Linked DNA regions of Homo sapiens: region 2 is linked to region 1. The links are contacts of gene promoters, found by promoter capture Hi-C in blood cells and fetal thymus (Javierre and others, 2016). All regions are on one chromosome and are shown on one strand. Each heading gives the region's core, a stretch centred on a gene start or on the middle of the fragment in contact. The rest is flanking DNA. Distances are from core to core; before and after follow the strand shown.

Region 1 (3,894 bases), core at 474-2,973:
GCTATCCCTGCCCTAGTCTCCTGCCCTTCTGACAACCTTCCTATGGACCTTTTCCCATTGAGAAATGGAGCTGAGGAGACAGAATTGAAACTCAAACCAGGCCAGAGCTCACCTAAGAGGGGCCATTTCACTCCTTTTCAGCCACCAGCCCTTTACATTCCTTCTCCCTGGTGACCTCATCAGAACCTTCTCATGAGAGGTCAGCTATGATGCAAGACCTTATAGAGGCCAGATGGCATTGAAATAACACCTTGCAGCTCCCTTACATGTGAATAATTGCCCATACTGAGAGACTAAAACCCTTAGGACTTCTGGGACCTGAATGAGGCAATGGTCTGAAGTGGGCTTGCGCTGGAAGCAAGACGTAAGTGGTGAAGGTGAGTATCAGGGCAGCAGGTTGACCCCTTTCTTGTTATGAGCATGCATTCCTTCATTCTTACTAATACGGGTTAGGTGCCTACCCATGGCAAGAGCAGTTCTAGGCAGGGAGAGGCCCCTACCCACCCACAGCTGACGGTCTAGGGCTTGTTTACATTCTAGGTTTCAGCGGGAAAGCAAGAACACCCAACTCCCTGCTTTTGATTCTATGTTAGTAGCTCAGCGCGCCTGTGCGAGCACGTGCTGCAGCCAGGGTAGGGGCTCAGAAACTGGTTGACAAGATGAGCAGTGGGGTCCTAGGGGGTTGGGCGGGAAGGGCCCACAAGGCCATATTCCAGGCTGTTCGGCTGCGAGTGACCCCTGAGAGGTCGGGATCTCCGAGCTCGTCCGATGTCTCCATCCCAGCCAGGAGCTTGCGAAGGGGAAGGAGGGCGGAAGCAGAGTGGGACAGATGTGGTTCGTTCTGGGGCTTCCTGTCCACGAAGATGGATAATTCTAGCGACCCGCCTGGGATTTTGGAATCCTGGCGGACCCAAAAGACAGCAGAAGTCACCGCAGAGGATGCCACCCCGCACGGCAGCCCGCCCAGAGCGACGGTCTCACAGGTTCCGGCGCCGTCGAGCGCCCAAGCCTCCTGTTGGCCGCCAGCTGTGTCCGCGACGCGCTGGGTCGGGAGGAGGAGACCCGAGGCGCCGGTAAGTCCCCCGCTGCAGGTGGCCCGGAGGGCAGGGGTGAGGACGGGGACGTGTACTGAACTTTGGGAGGTTTGCGGGGCTGGAGTTTTGTTTCAGAGATAGCCAGATCGAGATCAGAACGTTTTCCAGAGAGCCCAGGTTTCCACTTGTGGCTGGGCGACCCGGTCCGGAATTCATCCTTTCTCGGCCCTCAGCTTCCTCCGGGCGGGGTTCCGATGGGGCAGCTAAGTTCCGCGCCTCCTGCCGGTGCCAGATACTGGCGTGTCGACCCGCGCTGCGGTTGGCTTCTTGCTCCACAGCGCTATGCGCGCGGCGGCTCCGAGGGCTCCTGGTCTCTCTCAGCCAACGGCCTTCTGGGGCCGCCGCCTCCCTCTAGAGCTGCTCGGGTCCCATTGCAGAGAGTCCCGCAGCGCCCGCCGGCAGCCACGGCACTTCGCAATAACCAACTTCCCCGCCGCCGGCGCGTCCCGCCAGCCTGCCCTCGGCCGCAGGCGACTGGACGGCGGTTACGGGGCGGTCCCAGCGCCACCACGACTGGCTGTCGGCTCCGCCAGTCATGGGCTGATGACGCCCCGGGGCTGGCTCCGCCCCTAGCGGCAGCCCCGCCTCCCCTCCAGAGCCTGGTCGGCTTAGCCCTGCTTTCCGCCTCACTCGTTGAGCAGGTCCGTGAATTGTCAGCGCGCTGTGGGCGACTGTGTGGCCGCGGCGGCCGCCAGGCTTGCCGCACTCCCCCTGAGGTGCCCGCCGGAACCAATGTGCCCTGGTCCACTGGGCCGTGAGCAGCCACCGACTGGGGGCAACTTGGCACTTAGAACCGCAGCAGGGACGTCGGTTTGCTATCGGGACTCGGCGAGGACGGTGAGTGGCCGCGCGCCGGGCTAGCGGCTCCTCTCGGCGCGGTTCGGCGGCGGCGAGAGGGGACGGGACGCGTCCTGGCGCTCGGCGGTCCGTTCGTCCGAGCGTGACCGCTGTGGGGAGGTCAGGGCTGGGCGGGATTTACTCCGTGCCAATATCCCCACTCCCGAACTTCTTCTTGTCAAAGCATCCCAACTCCGCCCGGGACGCGGTTCCAGTCCGCACCAACTTGGCGTAATTGACATGGGTAGGTGGGGCCGGGACGCGTCCCCTGCCCCTCTGCGGCAACGACATGGAGCGCTGGGGCGGCCTCCGCGCCCGCGGCGTGCGGACCGCGGTTCCTGAAAAATTACCCGCGCTGTGCGGTACGGTAAGACCCGGCGTCCGCGTCTGGATCTCAAGGCTGAGCGAGCGCTCATCGGGCTCAAGGTGGGTCTCAGCGCCAGAGAACTGGAGTACCAGCCGGGTTCTGTAGCGGGGGCTTCAGTGCTCTGCAGCTACTGAGAGGAATTGAGAGCACTGCTGGGCTTTGAACTTTCTAAAGTAATTGCTTTCTATTAGCACTTGAATCCATGACCCTCCTGAGGTGCTCGGACCTCCACATCCACCCGCAAGGGGTGTCCGAAGGACTTCGTTAGGACCAGGCGGGAGCTGCTGTCGGTTCTGGTGCCCAGTGCCTTGGAGAATCCTAGAGGCTGCGAAAGGGATTGCCAGCCTGGTCGGTTGGTGTTTGTTTGAGCACCTGCGTGTTTAAGTGATGAAGTTGAGTCAGGAATTGACAGCAGAGAACTCAAGGTTAAACCTGACACTCCGTTTGTGACTCGGTCTGGGTTAGATTGTTTTCCCCCCTTAATGGTAAGGGGGTAAAAGCAGCTTGTTTTTCTGAGACCAACTACATGCATGTAGTTTATATTATGTGCGGAATAAACAGAATTCAATACGATATTTTCTTACAATTCTTATTTGACATGAATAAGAGCTTTTGAAAATACTAGACAGAAACAGGTCCAGAATTTGGGGATGTTTAGACCTTTGAAAATACATGAAAATGTTGAGATATATAGTTCTGTATGTGTATATGAAGATGTAGATGCGCATATACACACATACATACGTGTATATGTGTGAGTGTGTGTATATATAAAATTAAAAGGTGAATGAGGTAAATATATGAAGGGGAAATTCAGCCTTGAACTTCCCTTGGGTCACAGAGATGGATCCTCTGAGCTGTGGGGTGTTAGTGAGTGTGTATGCGTAAGCATGTCTGCATCTGCCTGGTCTGTCTGGGTCAGAGTATGTCCATGAACTTTACGAGCGTTCAGTTCAATACCACTCAGTGCAGAATCCGCGTTCCTGTTTTACAGCCCAGCAGCCGCCAGCCGGCCCATCTGTTAAAACATAACATGTACACTTCAGTCCGACCACTGGGGTGGAGCCTGGGTAGGGGGCAACTCTTAGCAGAAACAACATGCTACAAACAAAGCCTGCCTCTCAAGTTCTATTTTCATTCAATATTTGGCCTGAACTTGAAGTTTTGGTGAGGGAGAAGGAAGTGTTTGTCTCTAGAAATGGCAAACTGCATTTTGTGAAATAATTATAGCCACGGCTTGGGGAGGGGGAGCTTGTAGGAGAGAAAAAAAAATCCCTCCAGAAATGTGGTGCTTGTCACATCACCATGCAACACGGGTTTACAGCTTTGCAGTATGGCATGTATATCAGAAACTGTTTGCTTTTGCTTGTTAAAATAATGCATTAAAACTGAATCATTTTGCACCAAAAAAAAAAAAAAACCTACCTTAATAGAAGTAAACAGAGCTTTATTGCAGAGGCTATAATTAAGACTGCCTTGGTATTTCTAATGAAACATACTTTTAGGAATTTATAACCTGGACATATATTCATAGTCAGTCTAATCACTAGTTGCAATGATTCACAATTTATAGTTTTAAAATAATAAAAAGGCTTT
Region 2 (3,894 bases), core at 907-3,406, 680 kb after region 1:
TTTATTAATCTAAAGAAAATATAAAGAAATTAGATTTTTGGTGCTGTAAGGAACTTTCTAGGCCATGGCACATGCCCAGAGGTCAGGGGAATAACCCTTGATCTGTGGGGTCTGGGGGTCAATGGTTAAATACTCCTCTACCTCTCGTAAGTCAGGCAAAGCCTCATTATGAAGGTTATGAATACTGGGCCCAGGGTTTTATCCCACGGACAGGGTTTTATCCACGGCTTGAGCGGAAGAGTGACGGCAGGGAGAATGTTAATTAGGATCCTAGCCACTTGAATAACGTGGACGTTAGATTGATGTGGGAAGTAAATAGGGGCAGGAACAGATAACCAGGAGTCAACTACAGTTGTCTTGATTGGAAATAAATTGTGACCAAACTAGGCAGAGCAGTGCTGTAGAAATTTGAAGGTGGAGACCTGATAGTAAAACCCCAACTATGCTAGTACATTTCCCTTACTGACTTGGTGTGTTTGGTAGCCAATGAAATGGGCTCGGTCTCAGTTATCTCTTGCTGTATAACAAACCTCTCCCAAATGTAGTGGCTTAAATTGGCAATTTGTTCACGAAGTTGAGCAGGGCTCAATTAGGCAGTTATGTTGCTGCTGTTTCCGGGGGTATATTCAAATAATTAACTGTTATCAGGAGGTTGTCCTATGGTCTGAATGTGTCCCCCAAAATTCATGTGTTAGAAACTTAACCCCCAGTGCAACAGTGCTGGGAGGTGGGGCTTTTGGGATGTGTTTGGCTGAGCCCTGATGAATTAATGCTGTTATAGGAAGAGCTTGTGGGAGTAGACTTGCTCTTTGTCCTTCTGCTAAGGGAGGACACAGCATTTCTCCTCTCTGGGGATGCACTATCCAAAGCACCATCTTGGAAGCAGTGAGCAGCCCTCATCAGATGCTGGCCCCTTGATCTTTGTCTTCCCAGCCTCCAGAACTGAGACACTTCTGTTCTTGATACTCAGTCTGGGTATTCTGTGATAGCAGCACAAATGGACTAAGACAGGTTTGTTGGGGCCTTCAGAGTGTGTTCCGCCTGGTCTCTCCCTGCAGTGGCCTCTCTCACTTTTCTTACACGAAGGCCTCAAGTCCAGAAGGCAAGAGCAAAATTGCAAGCTTCTTGAAGCTCAAGCTCAAAAGTCACATAACATCACTTCTGACTTATTCTATCAGTCCAAGCAGTCATGAGTCATCCAACTTAGATTCACATGGTGGGGAAATAATCTATCTCTTGATGGGAGGAGCTAATACAATTTATGACCACTTTAAATTTTTCAGTGTATCTTGGTAGCTGATGAAATGAACTTTTGGTGTCTTCTTATCTGGGTTTGGATTTATAGCTAGAATTCAAATAACCATGTGCTGACAAACCACTCCTTCCTCTTACTAATACCCTGGTAAATATTCCAACACCTCTACTCTTGTTCCTGTTAAATATTTAAAGCCAGGACACTTGAACTCTATCATAGACTTAATCTCACGTAAGTAGAAGAATGTAGGAAAAAGCTTAGATTCTTGGAATATTTTCCAGAGCCACTGAAACTAATATCTTTTAAAAAACTACTGAATGTACTTCAAATGAGTTTTATGAAACTAAAGTTTTTTGTGAATTTGGGCTTTTTTTTTTCAAGGAAGAGAAAAACAATAAAGGGTAATTATATTTTCAGAATATGGTCTCAATGTTTATGGGACCATTTTGATAATTGCTTTAATTAACATCTTCATAACAGAATAAAAACTTCTCTTCAGTGCTAGTATTATGAAATATTGGTAAAAATGTTAGTGCCTTAAATATCAGTTAGCTAGTAACAATAGTAACTTAGAAAGTTTCATAAAGTGGCAGCACTGAAGTATCAAACTTACAAAGTATCAAACTTACAATTTTGTCCTTAAGGTATTCCCTGCATATTTGGGATGTTACCCTCAATCTGGAGAGCTTTTGATAATAATACAAGAAATCATTTTTTTTTTTTTTTGAAAGAGTCTCACTCTGTCACCCAGGCTGGAGTGCAGTGGCACGATCTCGGCTCACTGCAAGCTCTGCCTCCTGGGTTCACGCCATTCTCCTGCCTCAGCCTCCCGAGTAGCTGGGACTACAGGTGCCCACCACCATGCCCAGCTAATTTTTTGTATTTTTAGTAGAGACAGGTTTCACTGTGTTAGCCAGGATGGTCTCGATCTCCTGACCTCGTGATCCGCCCGCCTCGGCCTCCCAAAGTGCTGGGATTACAGGCGTGAGCCACTGCGCCCAGCCAAGATATTGTGTTTTAAAGAGGTAGCAACAGAATGCTAATATTCTTTCCCATGAGGAATGGTTAGGTCATGTATATACAATGTGTGGAAAGCTGTGGCAAAACTTGATCCCTAAGTGGGGTATTGGCTTCAGAACAGTTAGGGCTCTAAAGTCGGAACTGGAGAGGCAAAAAAGAGGTTTTGCTGAAGAGATGAGAACAAAGACAGCCTAAATCAAAACCTTTTTGGAAGGCTGTCTTATTTCCCTTTAAGCCAAGATCCCTGACTCAGTTCTGGGTATTTCTAAGATGGCCTTTCTGATTTATCTGAGAGCTCTCTTTAGTTGTATTTTTGATAAATAATAATTGTACATATTCATGGGGGACAATGTGATGTTTTGATACACTTATTCATTGTAGAATGATCAAATCAGGCAAATTAACATATCCATAGAGCTTTTTACCATTCTACTTCTCTCCTGAAACAGCTGCTTCTTAACAATTGACTTCAGGCTGTTTCCAGAGGTGGTCTTATTTACTTTTTGCTCTTTTGATTAAAGCTTTTATATTCTAACACTGGGATCCATGTATCTCAAAGCGTTTTCCTCAGAATACTTGTTTGCTTAGATGCTCTTGAAACAAAAATTCTATATAGCCATGACAATGCACAAATCATTGACACATGCAAAAACAAAGATGGATCTCACACATATAATGTATGGAAAATAAATCGACATGAAAGTACACACTGAACGAGTCCATTTATGTAAAGCTCAAAACAGGCAAAACTAATCTCTAGTTAAAGCAGGATAGAGGTTGTTTTGGGTGGGGGGTATCTTGAGGAGTGAGCACAAATGGGGCTTTTGTGTGCTGATTATGGTCTGAGCACTGGTTGCTTTGGTAGGCTTGCTTTGTGAAAGTTTATTGAGCTGTACGCTGATTTGAGCACTTCTCTACTTCTTTGTTAAGCTCATTAAGGAGTAGGACAATACAGAACAAATGGTTCTTCTCATTGACTTTCAAGTGAAATATGAGACTGGGTATCTCTAGTGGTTTGTTAAGGAAAGCATTGTTAGGCTGGCAACTTTTTTTTTTTCTGCATCCACTGTATTGTAGTGTTGATTTGGATTTTATTGGGTTTCAGTCTCCAAATAAACCAATAAGGGGTCAAACATCCAACAGATCAGTGGCAATCAGCAACAGAACAAAAACAACAAACAGCAAAGCAAAACACCATCAACACTGCAGTGCTATAGGACTGCATTTGATTGAAAAAAGAATCCTCATGCTCCACTAAGCCAGAAAAAGCTACCAGTATAAGGCATTGTTTCCAAGAAAACTTAAGAGGAAAGTGAAAGCTAAACATTGCTATCACTGAAGCCAATGTTATCTAGACATGTTCTTTATTTTCCCCGGAAATACCATCTAGGATTATGTCACGAGGTATCACTTGGAGAAAAGTTTTCAGCAGGAAAATTGTATATTTCTTAGAAGGGGGTGGGAAAATGGAAGTCATATAGACTGGTAAAAAAAATTAATATTTCATATTTGCCAAAATTCACATTTAAATGTTATATGTTCGTGGCCTTGAAACAGCCAATAGATTTGTCTCTGCCCAGGAGGCTGCACTGGGCAGACGTATTATCTTCCATACAGCA

The links. The method cuts DNA at HindIII sites, captures the fragments that hold promoters and counts their contacts. A CHiCAGO score of 5 or more calls a contact.
Region 2: a fragment that was not itself captured here is called in contact with the fragment with the promoter of MARCHF3 in region 1 in 1 of 17 cell types (non-activated CD4 T cells); the score reaches 5.7 in non-activated CD4 T cells.

The regions. Positions count from the first base shown.
Region 1 is chr5:127,028,387-127,032,280 of GRCh38, reverse strand. It overlaps MARCHF3 (membrane associated ring-CH-type finger 3), which reads left to right and starts at 1,723. Exons shown (of 5, transcript NM_178450.5): 1 at 1,723-1,931. LOC105379163 (a long non-coding RNA gene) reads right to left here and starts at 938. Exons shown (of 2, transcript XR_007058920.1): 1 at 1-938. RefSeq lists an enhancer at 841-1,385 and a silencer at 1,382-1,761. The HindIII fragment of the contact is 7,560 bases long and covers 1-3,894 here.
Region 2 is chr5:126,348,735-126,352,628 of GRCh38, reverse strand. All of the region lies in intron 1 of LOC124901056 (a long non-coding RNA gene), which reads left to right. Among named protein-coding and RNA genes, the nearest start is that of GRAMD2B, 73 kb to the left of the region's middle. The HindIII fragment of the contact is 1,285 bases long and covers 1,514-2,798 here.